Regions from separate parts of the Homo sapiens genome. Here region 2 is linked to region 1. The links are contacts of gene promoters, found by promoter capture Hi-C in human tissues and cell types (Jung and others, 2019). All regions are on one chromosome and are shown on one strand. The core of a region is centred on a gene start or on the middle of the fragment in contact, and the rest is flanking DNA. Distances in the headings are between cores, read along the strand shown.

Region 1 (2,811 bases), core at 1-2,500:
CACAGAACATTCCACAGCGATCGGCTTCTGTGCAAAGCAGAATATGGTGTTGGGAGGAGTAGAATCACAGGATTTGAGGGCTGAGGCGGGAGACAAATTCAGGGGTACCTCCCATTTATAGAGTGTTTCGTAGTTTCTAGATCACAGCCACAGGAGGCAGCGCAGCTACTTTCCCGTTTTACTTTAGGATGTATGTGGCCTAGGAGAGGCTGGCCTTGGGTCTTAAAAGCTGTACTGCCTCCTGGTTCCTATTACTGTAACTAGGGATTTCTGTGATCCCTGGGGTGGTGGTCCAGGCCTTTGATGGACCCGTGGTGACCCATGTGACTCTGACCCACATGGCCTCCACCTCCCCATCCCCTAGTTTGGGTCATGGGCTTCACAGGCCACGTCGCTGAGGACACTGTAAGATTGCACTTAGGGCCAGGTGCGGTGGCTCACACCTGTAATCTCAGCACTTTGGGAGGCCGAGGTGGGCAGATCACCTGAGGTCAGGAGTTCGAGACCAGCCTGGCTAATATGGTGAAACCCTGTCTCTACTAAAAATACAAAAATTAGGCCGGTGTGGTGGCGGGCACCTGTGATCCCAGCTATTCAGGAGGCTGAGGCACAAGAATTGCTTGAACCCGGTGAACCTAGGAGGCGGAGGTTGCAGTGAGTCAAGATCACACCACTGCACTCCAGCCTGGGCGATAGAGTGAGACTCCATCTCAGAGAAAAAAAAAAAGCAAAACAAAACAAACAAATCCCAAACATTTCCACTCTGGATGCCAGCTTGAAGGCTCTTGGTCTTGTCCTTGACTTTTAGGCAGTCCTTAGCTCCCAGAGAGAGCAGCATTAAAAATCATCATCAGCAAAGTACTTCATTAGGCATAGCTTTTAATAATGCGGAATGCTCAATTTTTATTGAAATATGTTTGTCAAAACACAGATAGAAAATGCTAGAAATAGAGCACCCCAGAATGCCAGAGCTGGGAGGCATCTGAGAAGCTTCTAGTCTAATCTTCTCCTTTGACAGATGAAGCCTGAAGATTTGGGGGTTGGTTCTCACTGAGGCTGTGCCCTGGGTTGCCCCAGGTGCTGTGAGGAACAGGAATGGAGGCACATGGCACCCACACTGGTCTCTGAGATGCCATCACTCACAGCTTCTCCCCATCAGCCAGGGCCTTGGACACAGCCCGAGCCTGAGTTGAAACCTGGCCCTGGAACAGGAAGTGCTTGGAAGCTTCCCTGCCGTTGCCGTGGTGCTCACAACCACCCAGGAAACCAAGGCAAGCTCCCCCTGTCAAAGCACCTTGGCCCATAAGAAGAAAAGGGGGAGCCCCAGATGTGATGAGCGCTTCCAGGCTTCAGGCTCAGAAGGCGCCCCCAGCTCTCCTGTAACTCAGAGGCCAGTGTGATGGGAGTTCCTCCACTCAGCACACTTCCCCTGTAAACACGCCTGTGGTGGGCAAAAGGGCTTTGGAACGGTAAGTACAATGGGTATTTTTCAGCCACTTCAGAGACCAAGAAATGTGTCCTAGTGACAGGTGCTGTCTTAGCACCTGTCTAGACCCAGTGTTAGACTTGGGTGCCTCTGGTCTACTTGGCAGGGAGGGAGTTTAGGGAATCAGGAGGGGTCTGGGAGCTGAGAGACCATTGTAGGTAGCTCCTGCCCGCCCACAGGGACCTTGGCACAGGCTCTCAAAACACACGAAGGGGCAGATTGCCTGGTGGGATGAAAAAAGAACACATTTCCAGGCCATTGAGATGTCTCTGGATTTCAAGATCAGCTAAAAAAGTTCTTAGATATTGATCTAAGAAAGCAGGAGCTTTGGGTAGCTGAGTGCAAACCCCAGCCTCCCTCTCTCTGTAACTGAAGCGGTGCTCTGTGGGCATAGCGAGTCCCGTGTGGGGTTTATTCTGTGCTGACCAGGTCTGCTTTAGAATGGAACCCTCTTCTCTCTTCTCAGATTCCTTAAGGCCACGTTGAGGATTTGGGGGTCTATGTCTAGGGCAGTGGGAAGCTGGTGAAGGGCTTTAAGCTGAGGAGTTCATCATCCTGGCTCCTGTGAGGTAAAGGGATCAGAAAAGCATGTATGTGTTACCTGAGGTGGGAGAAGCCTCACGCAAGGTGGAAACTCAGCCATCAAGGAAAACACACATTGCTGTAAACTCAAGTGCACCTCTGAAAGCTGGTTGAACAGCCAAAGATGCTCTTAACACACATGCATACATGGATGCAATTGCAGATGAAGACACCAGCAGCTGGGTACAAACACCAGGGCCATGTTTGTACCCAGACACGTTTCTTTTTCTTTTTTCTTTCCCCTCGAGACAGAGTTTCGCTCTTGTTTCCCAGGCTGGAGTGCAATGGTGAGAGTTTGGCTCACTGCAACCTCCACCTCCAGAGTTCAAGTGACTGTCCTGCCTCAGCCTCCCAAGTAGCTGGGATTACAGGCATGCGCCACCACACCCAGCTAATTTTGTATTTTTAGTAGAGACAAGGTTTCATCATATTGGTTAGGCTGGTCTTGAACTCCTGACCTCAGGTGATCCACCTGCCTTGGCCTCCCAAAGTGCTGGGATTACAGGCATGAGCCACTGGGCCTGGCCCCAGATATGTTTTCAAATTAGAGACTGGCAAAGGAAATACACACACACACACACACACACACACACAGGACATATTTTCATACTAATGAAACAATTTGTTTACCATAAACAAAGTCAAAAGACAAATGATACACTTCTGCAGCATGTATGGCAGACAAAATGTTAGTGTCCCCAGTACATAGAGGGCTCCTTAAAAAATGCTAGTGAGACTACAGT
Region 2 (2,773 bases), core at 217-2,716, 230 kb before region 1:
GTTTTGTAGGTCCCAACCAGCCCTGGTAAGAAGTCTGGCTTTCTTCTACCTGTGGTACAAAGCCATGGTGATAAAAGAGCATTTCACTGGGATTTGAGCCTGTATGCTCACTCACCATGGGGGTGAGACTCCAGCAGTCAGGGCTCCCCAAGGAGGAAGCAGAGCAGCTGACGGTGAACTTGTGCCCAGCTCTGTCTGGGCTCAGCGGACTTGAGACTCAGCACTCAGCCAGACTGAGCTCCCCATAACCGGCCAATTGGAAACTGACAAGCGAAGGACTGGTTAAAACCAACCAACCACATTTCCTTGTAAAACTCCCTGGCTTTTGCTTTGTTGAGTCCCTGTGGCTTGTTCAGAGAGATGGTCTTTGAGCCTTTGCAGGGGCTGCAGTCCCTCATGTATACCCATCCGTGTGAGTAAATCTCCTCTGCTTCAAGCTCAGGGTATTGGGTTATTCTTTGCACCTCAACAGTCACGGCGCCTGAGTCTTTCTCTTGTACACAATGATCAAGGGGCAGAGCCCCTTAGCAGTGTTTGGCTCATTATTCTGGATGGGGCTGAGGTCCTGGGATAATAGAGAGCAAGAAGCCTGGGAGGCCAGAGGCTCCCAGGTGAGGCTTTTTGTTGGTTTTTGTTTGTTTGTTTGTTTGTTTGTTTGTTTTTGTAGGAGATACCTCAGAGAATAAAAGGAGTGCACTCAGTAGCACTGTAACCAAACCAAAGCTTCAGTCACTCACCACTTGTACAGTCCAATTAACAAGAGCTACAGGAGTTTGAGACTAGCCAGTGCAACATGGCGAGACCCCTGTCTCTACTAAAAATACAAAAAATTAGCAGGGTGTGGTGGTGTGCACCTGTGGTCCCAGCTATTTGGGAGGCTGAGGTGGAAGGATCACTTAAGCCCTTGGGGGAGAGGGGGCAGAGGTTGCAGTGAGCCAAGATGGCGCCACTGCACTCCAGCCTGGGTGACAAGAGTGAGACCTTGTCTCAAAAAACAAATAAACAAACACACAAACCAAAAAACGAGTGAGGGCTGACATGAAAAAAGTGACTTTTTATTCTAAAGCTTAGCTTAGGGGGAAAAGTACAGGCTTCTGCTTTTAAGGGCACTGCTTTGCTTTTGGGGCAGAAAGCAGGGACTTTTAAAGGGGGGACTTTGCATGCACAGCAGGTGGGGAGGGAGTGAGTAGGTGGGGGACCACTGGACTCACTTCAGTGCCTTATCCACCAGGTGGTCCAGCTGGCACAAAACTAGGTTCTAAGGTGGTCGTTGTCTTGAGACGCTCTCCAGGTGGGAAAGACTTCCGTCGTGGGCGTACTTGAGGTTGGAAATTGACAGTTGTTTCTTGAGGCAATCTCCTGCTGGGAGAGCTTTCTGGCTCTGGAGCTTCTAAGTGAGCACAGAGTCAGATAAGCTTGTCCTATAGGGAGTGTCTGGTGAAGGGAAGGTCAAGGTTATAAGGTTATAATTGCATTTCTAAAGCGCTAAGTAGGAAGTGAGGAACATGAGAAAAGAAGGAGAGAGAAAAGAAAAAAAATAATTAAAACCATTTTCTTTCTCTTAGAAAAATGGGATACTCAGTTACAGCATCATTGCATTAAAGGGACATTGAGTTTTGCAGGTGGGGGAAGTGAAATGGCTTAGAAAGAACATTGGCGGGGGACACAAGGTTCCTGACTCATGTGTTTTTTGCTTTTTTTCTGTTTTGTTTTGAGACGGAGTCTCACTCTGTCAGCCAGGCTGGAGTGCAGTGGCACAATCTTGGCTCACTGTAACCTCTGCCTCCTGGGTTCAAATGATTCCCCTGCCTCAGCCTCCGGAGTAGCTGGGATTACAGGCAGGTGCCACCATGCCTGGCTAAGTTTTGTATTTTTAGTAGAGATGGGGTTTCACCATGTTGGCCATCCTGGTCTCGAACTCCTGACCTGAGGTGATCTGTTCACCTTGGCCTCCCAAAGTACTGGGATTACAGGTGTGAGCCACCGTGCTGGCCTCCTGACTCTATTTTGAAACCATGATCTTCTGGGCTTGTGGAAGGAAAATCAGCCTCCCCTTGAGAGGGTTGGAACCTGGTAGGTTCTCAGAGGGCAGCTGGCATGGGTAAGGTGGGAAGGTTAAGGGTCTGTTCCGTGATGATCCTGGGATATGAGGGTTCAGGCTGCTGATCTGAGTGCAGAAAAAGGCGTGGGAATTGGAAGGTGGGGGTGGAGACAAGGTCAGATGAGGCAGCAGGGTCTGGGGCGGCCTGAGATGTGGGGTTGGGGGACAACAAGTGCCTGGGAGGACTGGGCCTTCAGGCAGATGAGGGAGGCAGGGAGGTAAGCACAACAGGACCTCTCCTCGGAGCCTCTAGGCAGTGAGCCGGCAGTTTATTTCGACAGTATTTGCTTTTGACACTTTTTGAAAACAATTAATTGCTGCATTAATTACAAACTGATTTATCTTATTCAAGTAGTCAATTTTAATAACATCACAACAGTCTTACCTTCCTATCCTGCCAACCAGTCACAGTGATTTCTTGTTTTGTCAGCACAAATGCTATTGAAACTCTGAATTTTAGTGGTAGCTTTGGGTTCTGTTCTCTGTTCCTGAGGGAAGAGAAGCCATCGACAGAGGAAAATTCCCACACTCAGCCTGAAACCTCTTCTATCTGCTAATTGGAGGTTCCTCTTACTGAGCTGGGGCCATGGAGCCTCAGCCCAGCCCCTTGTGGGTGCCTTTTGCAGCAAGCTGAGTCCTAGTTGTTACCCTTGCTCCTTCCTTTGGGAATGG

The links. Contacts are between HindIII fragments. The study calls those that stand out against the background at their distance.
Region 2: a fragment that was not itself captured here is called in contact with the fragment with the promoter of BTBD16 in region 1 in 2 of the 25 tissues and cell types used here (IMR-90 fibroblasts and adrenal gland).

The regions. Positions count from the first base shown.
Region 1 is chr10:122,270,046-122,272,856 of GRCh38, forward strand. It overlaps BTBD16 (BTB domain containing 16), which reads left to right and starts at 1,251. Exons shown (of 16, transcript NM_144587.5): 1 at 1,251-1,469. The HindIII fragment of the contact is 10,681 bases long and covers 1-2,811 here.
Region 2 is chr10:122,037,281-122,040,053 of GRCh38, forward strand. All of the region lies in intron 2 of TACC2 (transforming acidic coiled-coil containing protein 2), which reads left to right. Among named protein-coding and RNA genes, the nearest start is that of TACC2, 50 kb to the left of the region's middle. The HindIII fragment of the contact is 3,981 bases long and covers 1-2,773 here.